Linked DNA regions of Homo sapiens: all the other regions are linked to region 2. Evidence: promoter capture Hi-C in 16 types of primary human blood cells and fetal thymus (Javierre and others, 2016). All regions are on one chromosome and are shown on one strand. The core of a region is centred on a gene start or on the middle of the fragment in contact, and the rest is flanking DNA. Distances in the headings are between cores, read along the strand shown.

What was found. The method cuts DNA at HindIII sites, captures the fragments that hold promoters and counts their contacts. A CHiCAGO score of 5 or more calls a contact.
Region 1: a contact is called between a fragment that was not itself captured here and the fragment with the promoter of TMEM71 in region 2, in 1 of 17 cell types (total B cells). The highest score is 5.8, in total B cells.
Region 3: a fragment that was not itself captured here is called in contact with the fragment with the promoter of TMEM71 in region 2 in 2 of 17 cell types (non-activated CD4 T cells and monocytes); the score reaches 6.4 in non-activated CD4 T cells.

Annotation. Positions count from the first base shown.
Region 1 is chr8:134,817,711-134,821,287 of GRCh38, reverse strand. It overlaps a transcript of ZFAT not described here. Among named protein-coding and RNA genes, the nearest start is that of MIR30D, 15 kb to the right of the region's middle. The HindIII fragment of the contact is 1,441 bases long and covers 1,190-2,630 here.
Region 2 is chr8:132,758,659-132,762,322 of GRCh38, reverse strand. It overlaps TMEM71 (transmembrane protein 71), which reads left to right and starts at 1,741. Exons shown (of 10, transcript NM_001382403.1): 1 at 1,741-1,847; 2 at 3,408-3,483. The coding sequence starts at 3,444. The HindIII fragment of the contact is 4,740 bases long and covers 1-1,959 here.
Region 3 is chr8:134,835,749-134,839,554 of GRCh38, reverse strand. It overlaps NCRNA00250 (non-protein coding RNA 250), which reads right to left and starts at 1,486. Exons shown (of 3, transcript NR_126028.1): 1 at 1,246-1,486. The HindIII fragment of the contact is 1,553 bases long and covers 1,288-2,840 here.

The sequences.
Region 1 (3,577 bases), core at 661-3,160, 2.1 Mb before region 2:
CCTTGTCTTTTTTTCATGTGAATTACTTTAAGTCTAATCTTTGTCACTCTTTACTTGCCAGTTGATGCTTTGAAAGTAAATGTAGGATATTATGTATTGCATTACTATAAAACTTTAAATGAATTTATATATCTGAAGATATCACCATTTGTATAAAATAGCACAGTTTTCATGGTGTTTTCACATCTATTTAATCTTCACAACAACCATCTGAGAATCAGAAAAACTGACTTTCCACTAAGTCTAGAATTGGCACATGTAGAACTTCATTGCAAGCTTTTTGATTCCAGATCTCATGCTCATCTCATCATTATTCATTCACTTAATATGCATTTAGTGTGTCCATTCATATATGGTAGGCACCATGTGGTGCTGGTGTGTCAGGGGCGAGACACATTACAGTCTCTATCCTTGTGTTTATGATCTGGTGTATAAATACTACCAATTACTAGGCACTTTTCATAAGGAAGGCACTGTGGTAGACTATTATTTCAAAAATATTTATTGCTTCTCTCTATCAGGGTTCTTTCTGTAGTCGGATTATACTTCTTATTCTGTTGACATCAGGTTTGACCATTTGGCTTTCCTTGACCAATAAAATGTTAAAGTGACATGTCCCATGTTTGAGCAGATATTTTTCATCCTGTGGTTCTGCCAGTGGCCCTTGACCCTCTGTCATGGAACCAGCATGACTTAGCTATGGCTGGTCCCAGAATAATGGAGCAGAGCTGAAGCCAATCTGTGATAAGCATATAAGTGTGAGATAAATACTGTGCTGTAAGGCACCATGATTTTGGACATTTGTTACCATAGCAGAATATAGTTCAAGCGATGATACTGGCATCACTCAAGGTGCTGTATGATGATGATAAGACTTGGGCATTGTCCTAAAGGAGCTTACAGTCTTGGTAGATGTATTACATTTCCACAGGTTATTGGGAGTTGAGGAAAAGGAGAGTAATATTACATAAGGATCTTTGAAGTTGAGGATCTTTCCTGACCTCCATCTCATCCCTAGGCTGAATCAGTCAATATGTTTTAAACCCTGGGTTTGTGATCCACTACTCACTGTCACAACCTCTTATTGTCCAAAATTTGATAGGCATATTTTCTATGCCCTCATTCAAATCACCTTTTTTAAAACAAACATTTAAGAGGATGAACTTCTACAGAATTGTGATTATAAGCTTCCTTCATAAATCTATTAATCAGCATTTAATAGCAAGCTAAGAATATACCCAGTTAAACTGTTTCTCTATTATCCAGAAAGATATCATGATGTCCTAGATTCTATGTGAATTTTATTTGTGAGCATTTAAATTTCCCATTGTCATGTCTATGTGTGCTTCTCACTCTGCATGGGATTTTAAAGAAACAAAACCTTGGCTGGGATTCCAAAAGGAATCTTTTTTTTTTTCTTCCCCCCGTGAGAAGCTAAGGAATACATACATGGCCAAGGTTCAGAAGAGTTTTGAAACCTTTGAAATAATTACATGTAAAATTTTATGTAAATATACATTGTTCTGGTCCCTAGCTTTCATCATATTATCAAAGGAAATCAAAAACTCCCCTGGAAGGTTGTAAACCCTGTTGAAGAGTGAGACTAGAAGTAGAACAAGGATCTGAAGAGCACCAATATTTAAGGGACAAGTGGAATAGGAGCCCAGAAAGAAGTCAGAGAAGGTGTAGTTAATTAGAATATTGGAGGAGCGGGAGCAAATGTAATGTCAGAGAAACCAGTTCCTTATTAATCAGAGCTTTTGTGGTGTGTTGGGGGGCGGGGGGGGGGGGTGGTAAATCCGGCAGTTCTCATGGCGTTTCATTGTGATTCCTTGGAAATTACCAAATCTGCAGATACATTTAATGTCTTGGGATAATATTTTTCTTGACCTATAAACATGAATTAAAAGTGATTACTTTTCTTTTGCTGTCTCCTTCCTATCTTGGACTTTGATTTTTCTTTTAATCCGTATCCTTCACAGATTAAAAGATCATTCTTTTTTTTCCTTTTTTTTTTCCTTCACCCCCTTCCTCTTCCCCTTCCCACTCCCAGACCGATTCAAGGCAGGAGTAAAACAATTATGTAGGTTATCTGTTAGCAGTTTTATTGCAAGTAAGTAACCTGGCTTTTGTTTGTTGTTGTTGAGAATGTATTTAAGTCTTTTTATTGTCCTTAACACTTTCGGCAAGTCTCTATTTTTATTGAAACAATTTTATTGACATATAGTTGTTATACAATAAATGGCATATATTACAATGTGCAGTTTGTTAAGTTTTGACGTGTTTATCCATGAGACCATCACCACAGTCAAGACACTAAACATATACCCCCAAAAGTTTTCTGATGTCCCTTGATAACCCTCCCCTGCATTCTCTAGGCAACCATTATCTGTTTTCTTTTACTTTACATTGGCATGCATGTCTTAGAATACAATATGCACTCCTTTTGTCTGGCTACTTTCACCCAGCATTATTTGGAGATTCATCCGTGTTGTACCATGCACCAATAGTTACTCTTTCTTATTGGTAAGTAGTATTCCATTGTATGGATATACCACATTTTGTGTATCCATTCACCTTTTGATAATCTATTTGGGTTGATTCCAGTGTTTGACTTTTAAAGTAAAGCTTCTATGAATATGTATGTACATGTCTTTGTATGGACATAAACTTTTCATTTCTCTGGGCATACACCTAGGAGTAGAATGACTGAATCATATGGTAGCTATATGTTCTATACCTACCTAGTTTCTTCTTAAACTGCCAGTGGTTTTCCAAAGTGGCAGTACCATTTTACATTCCCACCAGCATTATGCTATCATTTGGTGCAGTCAGTCTTTTTAATTATTGCCATTCTAATTAGTGAGTAGTGGTGGTTTTAATTTGCATTTCTCTAATGACTGCTGATGGTTAGCATCCTTGCATATGTTTATTTGCCATCCCTTTCTCTTTTGGGAAGCATCTGTTCAAATCTTTTACCCGTTAAAAAAATCTGGTTGGTTGTTTTCTTACTGCATTCTGAGGGTTCTTATGTATAAATCCTTTATCAGATTTATGATTTGCAAATATTTTTCCAGTCTATGGTTTGTCTCTTCATTCTCTTAACAATGTCTTTTGAAGGGCAAAGGTTTTAATTTTGATATCTAATTTATCAGTTCTTTTATGGATTGTACTTTTGGTACTGTATCTAAAAATGTTTTTTTTGCGTAATTCAAGGTCAACAAAGGTTTTCTCCTGTGCTTTCTCCCTGTAGTTTTAGGTTTTCTATCTAAATATAGTGATCCATTTTGAGTTAAGTTTTGAGTATAGAAAACTTTTCTATCTGGATGTTCTTAAGACACCATTTGTTGAAAATTTATCCTTTTTCTATTGAATTCCCTTTTCCCCCTGTGAATAATCAGTTGACTTTATATATGTAGTAGTTCTATTTTGGACTCGATTTTGTTCCATTGAGGTATTTGTTGATCTTGACACCAGTGCTGCACTGCGTTGATTATTCAGTGTTGAAATCATGTAGTCTTCCAATTTTCTTTTTTTCAAAGTTATTTTTGCTAGTCTAGGTATTTTACATTTCCTT
Region 2 (3,664 bases), core at 492-2,991:
GAAAAGGAGAAGAAGAGAACTGTGAATTCCAGTAAAGAGAATACCAGACAGCTGTGAAGCAGAATAGCTGTCTGTTAAATTTAGGCAGATGTGACCAGGAGTAGCCTTGAGTAAATGTGACTATATTCTACAGGAGTCACTAAAGCAGCAGAGAGTCAGCAATGACAGATGGCTCAGGAAGTGACCTGTGTTAGGACTATGCATCTGCTATGTGTTGCTGTGTAACAAATTACCTCAAAACGTGGTGGCTTGAAATACCATTTGTCACTTCCCAGTTTGCGTGGGCCAGGGAGCTGGGCAGGGCTAGCCTGGGTTGTCTGCTTCTGGGTCTTTCCCAGTTCCAATCGAGCATTAGATGGGGCTGCAGTCAGCTCAAGGCTCAACTGGAGAAGGATCCACTTCCAAGCTCACACACTTGGTTTTTGGCTGGATTCCTGGCTGTTGGATGGAGCATCAGACCCTTACTGGCTTTTGAGACCACTCTTGATTCCTTGACACATGGGCTTCTCCACCATGGCAGCTTGCTTCATCAAAGCAGGCAAGCAAGAAAGTAATAGAGTCCAACAAGATGGAAGCCTCATCATGGTAGTGGAAACTCAGCACCTTTGCCTTACTTTATTTACAAGGAGCATGTCAGCAGCCTCAGTCTACACTCAAGGGATGGAGAATAGACATGAAGTTCCAGAGACAGAGAACTTTGAAATTAGATGGGCCCTCCTCCTGACAGTTCCTGCTGCCTAGAACATGTTCTACAGAAGATCCTGCCATGTGGCAGAACCTCAGGGGGAAAGGGAACCCCAGGAAAGGATGAGATTAACTTTTCCGCCAGCCGGACCAACTGGTGCCTCAGAAGAGAACTTGATTTAAGAAAACAAATAAAGAATACACCTTGCACATCTGTGCTGAGGACTCGATTATTTCTCATTTCTTTTATTTCATTTAATTCTTCAAGCCATCATATGACATATATATTTTTATGTTTATAATTGAGAAAACTGCAACTCAGAGGGGTAAGTCACAAATCTGAGGTCACACAGCTAGGATGGTAGACAGGTTGAATTTCTGTCTTGTGACCCCAGAATCCGCACTCTTTCCACTATGCAGTGGTACCTCAATGTTGCTGGAATATATATTTGAATGTACATTTCTTTTATCACTTACAGTAGTACAGATGTGTATGAACCCATAAACACCATCAAGTCTTTGAGCTCTACTATAATGTAAATGTAAAATGCCATCTATAGAGTTTTTTGTGAAGTCCAACCTTCATTAGATAAACCTATTGCCTCTATAGAAATTTTCATAAGATCAAGCTCTTGCTATTTAATAGTATTCTGAATTTAATAGCATCAGTGCATTATCCTCAATAAATTTAAGTGATTTGGACAAAGATCACTACTCTGCACTACTTATAACTGAATGTGGCCATATGATGAGCAAGAAATGTCAGTTCGCTGAGTCTTTCTCACGTTCTCGCAGCCAAAGGTGACAAGTTAGCTCAGAAAACCACCCCTCCAGTGACCAGGGTGTAACCAGCTGGCCTGACACATGGGCTGCACATTCCCTGCTGCTGGCCCAGGAAACTCTCTGAAATCTTCAGCACACTCCTCAGTGTGAATGCCACTGATGTGAGCCCAACAGGAAGTGTGACCTCATTCTGCTTCTTTGCCTCTGGTTACGCAGGCTGTTTTCAAAAGAAAACAAGAGAAGTTGTAAGACTGACTTTCCCAAGAACTATACACTCATTTATACCAGGAAACAGACAAGAGAACAAGAGGCTGCCGAAGACAAAACTTCTCTGCAAGCACCTGTGCACAGCAATGTGCGTGGGCATCTGTGAGAAGAAGGTAGGGTGGGATTCCCTTTATTAAGAGACTTCTGCACCTGTTGACATTCAGACATTTTTCAGCCGAGGAACTGCTCAGTCCTCAATTTTTCCACTGTCAACCACAGGAAGCTTCGTATTTCAGTAATAATTTTGTCCTTTGTCAATTGGAAGAAGAGGCTGGGAACTCCCTTTGGAAGGAACACGTATGCACACATTATTTTTCAGAATAGATGTGTCGCTTTGATGGAACTGGCAGATTCTGTTTCTTGAAAAGTTTTAGATCTGTAACTGAAGGGCTTTTTTTTTTCCTACTGTTACTAATTTTCTATTGAATGTCAGTGTACTGCCTGTAGATTCTTCTAAGCACTTGTGAGATAGAGCAATAAGACCTTCTTTTGCTGCAGGATTTATAGGCTTAAAATTAAGCTTAATACTTGGGGAACACTAAAATAAGGTAATTTGGGCTGGGCATACCCGTACAATATTGATCAAAAATGAAAAGAACAAGTAACATACTAATATATTACATTACACTGGGATTATTTTATATCCCAAACAAATGAAATTTGTAAATGTGTGCTTTGATTTAGAAATCTTCCAAGGAAGGCCAGAAAGTTCTCCTGACATCTTTACAGGTCTCTATAAACCAGGTTTATATTTTCCTAATAGGGTTTATATATAATTTATTGAAATATTCAACTTGAAGCTGTAGAATTAGCCTGGTTTGATTGATTGAATTACAGCTACAAAAACAATCCATTACTAGTTCTCATGTTACAAAATGTGGCCATAAGTGGTGAATCAGAAAATAATTTACTCCTACCTTATAAAGCGATTAGGATAGTGATACTATATACAAAGTTTCATAGTCAACAGAAGTTGGTTCTATTTGATGAACAGTAAATGATCAAAGTTTGCATAATTTACATACTTTGATATGTTTTTAATTAGTAATTGAGAAATTAAATCATGTCTTCATGGGAACTAAGTTCTAAAATCTTCCCAATGGTATGCTATCTTTAGTGCAACATTACTTATGCTGTTTAGGAATGTCCAGGCTGATAAAAACTATTAAAATCACTCTCTGTGACTACCTGTCAATGGTTCAAGTTGTTGGGAAAAAGACAGACACCAATCTCCAAGCACTGTTTGAAACTTGATAATGAAGTTGACTTGTGTCAGATGATTAAAATACACGTAAGTTTGTTTTGGGGCTAAATGACTGTTAGAACCAGTCATTTTATTAAGATTTCTTAATCAAATACCTCACTTTCATTATTTTCTTTGGATTACAAATCAACCTTTTTAAGTCTAGATTTTCCAAATAAAGTGTGGTTCTTATTTACAGAAAAATGTTATTGAGATGCACTGAGTGAGGCAATGGAAAATGTTCAGTCATAGAGGCAGACACAACTTTAGAGGGGTTGTGTCTTCAGTCTGGTCTCCTACCTTCAATTCTGTATCTCTGTATTATTTCAGTAAACAAATCTGACTAGTGCAATTAGTAGATGCCATCTGTTTTGGCATAATTTTTCTATTTTTAATATATAGTCCACCTTTTTTTTAACATCTTTTGCAGAGAATCTGTGAAGTTTGAGCAAGCGGCCTTCCCAAGATGTACCGAATATCTCAACTGATGTCAACACCAGTAGCAAGTAAATGTAGAAGAACTGTGATACGCAATTATCTTTTGAACGATTAGACTCCTTTTAGCAATTTCCTTGCTTTGATTTTGCTGATACTCAGACCATTAACCATCTGTCAGTAGCTTGTGCTTCTTAAATGCCAGTGTTCACTTTGGCAATGATTTTAACTTCATTTTTTTCCTTGAAAGAA
Region 3 (3,806 bases), core at 815-3,314, 2.1 Mb before region 2:
TTTGCTAAACATAAGTTGACTTAGGCCTGTTCCACAATATGAAGAACCCCTGCAGTCTTGCTGTGGATTATAACAAGGGAGGAGACTATTATGTGACTCAGCATAAACCTGCCTTAAACCTAAACTGAGGATTTGCAGTAGGGATGAGGAGGACTAGACGACTCAAAATTAAGTCTTCATATTATTTGCTATTTCAGCATTAATTGGAAAATTCAAGGGGACAGTAAGAATGTGAGATTGAAATAAAAATAGTATTTTGCCTCTATAAATAAGATTCAGCCCCAGGCTCCTCTTCTGCAGAAATTCTTATTAAGGACTTGGCTCTCCTCCAAGAAAAATAAGGTAGAAATCATTCAAAACCCTTTACTTCCAAATTATTCCTGATAGGAGCTGCTTGATGAGTATAGCTCTCTAGTTTTGTATGTTTACAATTTTCTAATAAAAGGCTTGTTTAAAATATCCCTGAGCTAGGAAGTAGCTCTTACATACTTAAGTCTTAAGCCATTTTTTTTCAAAGACTATTCCTTTTTTTTTTTTGACTGAATCTCTCTGTAGCACAGGCTGGAGGGCAGTGGTGCAAACACAGCTCACTGCGCCTCCACCTCCCAGGCCCAAGTGATCGTCCTACCTCAGCTTCCCTTGTAGTGGGAACTACAGGCACCCACCACCATGCCCACTAGTTTTTGTATTTTTTTGTAGAGACAGGGTTTTGCATTTTGCCCAGGCTGGTCTCAAATTCCTGGGCTTAAGCAATCCTCCTGCCTGGGCCTCCCAAAGTGCTGGGATTACAGGCGTGAGCTACCGTGCCTAGCCCATGTATTCTTTAAGTACACTGACGTCATCTCTGTGGGTGGTAACACTGGGCAAGTTGCTTACGTGTCCTGAATTTGTTTCTCCAGCGATAGGACAGGATAATAACATCCACCTTACAAAGCGATTACGAAGCTTAAATATCTGGCATACATAAAGTATCTAGCAAAGCACTTGCACATGGTGGCCACTCAATAAACAGTTATTAGCATTCACTAATGAGGATACTGATTAGAATTATCATGATTATTACTGAGCCATGAAACTAGAGGTTTTAAGTTACTATTTAAAATAGTGCAAGACTCTATTCAATAGCCTCAGAGCATTTGGCAGGAATAATTTGGCTGTTGATTTTGAGTGCATCTGACAGGAACAGGAATGACTTTTGCAGCTCCCCTGGATGCATGGATGTTATTGTAATTTAACAAAACTCACCTCTCCAGTTGCTAGTGCATTTTGTCTGTTGGCCTCAAAGCTTGGCTCAAATTGTCAGGCCAATGGAAAGACTGAATGCTTTGCCTCCAGGCAAAATTGTGGCCTGCAGAGGGTGGACCCTGCATTGCATCTCAGCGAGAACGGAAAGCTCACTCAGCATGCTGCAGTCTTTCATACTGATTTTGACATAAAACATCAGGCGGAAATTCCACTTCTGACTCTGCAGTAATTGTGGAGGAGCCAGAGGGCCATCCAAACACAGATGTCTGGCATGACGCTGCACACCTCACGAGGTCACAGGACAGACATTGCAGAGAGATCGTGATGATCATGCATAAAGGAGAGCCCACCATCTTCAGGGCGCAACTCATTCATTCTTCCTCCTTCATTGTTCCGGAGTTACTGTGAATAGTCAAGATTATTGTTTCAGACTTTTTCCAATGTCTTGACTTACAATGGCGAGAAAGATGTTGATGCTGGTAATAATAGTAAAAATGGTGAAAGTTTTTCCAGAGTTTCAAATGATGGAACTCTGCATCCTACTATTGTGTAGCATGTGTGAGTACGTGTGTGTGTGTGTGTGTGTATGTGAGTACGTGAGTGTCTGTGTGATTCAACATATGTATGTGTGTATTGATTCCTCCTGAGTAGCCCCCCCCAACCCTTTTTTTTTTTAACTAAGTATGTCAGCTTCTGGAACTGCACATAACAGTTTTCCAGCAGTGACACTCATGCATAGCACAGCCATCAAAGACCTGGAAGCCATGTAATACAGCTGACCTTTGAACTAGGGGAACAACCCCTGTATGCGCAGTCAAAACTCCCAAGCATAACTTTTGAATCCCCAAAAACATAACCATTAGTAGCCTACTGTTAACCAGAAGCCTTACTGATAACATAAACAGTCGATTAACCCATATTTTGTTATATGTATTATATACTGTGTTCTTATAATAAAGTAAGCCAGAGAAAATAACATTAATGAAAAAATCGTAAGGAAGAGAAAATATATTTCCTCTTCATTAAGTGGAAGTGGATCATCATAAAGCTCTCCATCCTCATCATCTTCATGTTGAGTAGGATGAGGAAGAGGAGAAAGAGGAGAGGTTGGTTGTACTGTCAGCAATGGCAGAGGCAGAAGAAAATCCAAGTATAGCAGCTCAACGAAGTTCAAACCGGGTGGTTCAAGGGTCAACTGTAAAGACTACTAGAGGCAGAGGCTCACTTAATTGCATGTTCAGAAATTAAGAGTTTAACATTATTAGAATATGCAAAGGCATACAGAGTGACATAATGGACTTTATATCACTTTATATCATTTATATATAATGGACTCAGAAGCAAGAGGGTGGGAGTGGGGAGCCAGGGATAAAAACACTACACATTAGGTACAATGTACACTACTTGGGTGATGGGAGCACTGAAATCTCAGAATTCATCACTATATAACTCATCCATGTAGCCAAAAATGACTTGTATCCTAAAAGCTATTGAAAAAAAAGAATTTAAAATTGTTAGTATGAGCAGCTCCACAAATTTGGGGTGCAAATATGGTCATATTATTTACTTTTCCAATTAATTCATTGAGTAAAGCTTGCTGCTATAACAACAACAAACAAACAAATTTTCAGTTATTTCTCGCTCATATAACCATCTAAATTAGATGTTTCTGGTTGGAGGGCAGCTTTCCTCTACAGAATGATCCAGGGCTCAAAGCATAATTATACTCTTTTCTGGCCAGTGGGGTCTTGCACCCACTCTACTAAGGTAGCTTTCCCTAGGGCTCCCAGGAGACTCCTAACAAAGCCAACTTAACTTTCTGTTACCTCTTCTGATAACGCCAGGAGGAAAAAAATTATGTAAAAGCTTTATATTCACTGAGGCATCCTACTATATTGAATTGTCTGAAATGAAAGAACATTTCATCTCCAGATTTTAATAGATGATTGTCTATGAAATAAAGAGGATTTAGAGGCCAGGCACGGTGGGTCATGCCTGTAATACCAGCACTTTGGGAGGCTGAGGCAGGCAAATCACTTGAGGTCAAGAGTTCGAGACCAGCATGGCCAACATGGTGAAACCCCATCTCTACTAAAAATACAAAATTAACCAGACATGGTGGCAGGCACCTGTAATCCCAGCTACTCAGGAGGCTGAGGTAGGAGAAGTGCTTGAACCCTGGAGGTGGAGGTGGCAGTGAGCCGAGATCGTGCCACTACACTCCAGCCTGGGCAACAGAGCCAGATTCCATCTCTAAAAAAGAGGATATAGAGGACATCTTCATATTATAAAATGGCATAAACTGAAAAAAACATAAACATAAGCTGATATTTTAAAGAAATCAGTTAATGGTGTTTCTAAGATTTGTAGTTGGTGCTCAATACATTTATAGAACCAGGCTTTTGAATCATGCCTGAAACTTAGCAGCTCAATTGTCATTTTTTAGAATAAATGAATGGTAATGACATCAGTCTAATAAGCATTTTGAAACATGCGCAAATCTTTAGATATAAAATTTGTACATTAAAATAAGTTTTTGAGATGACAATTGGTAGATATCC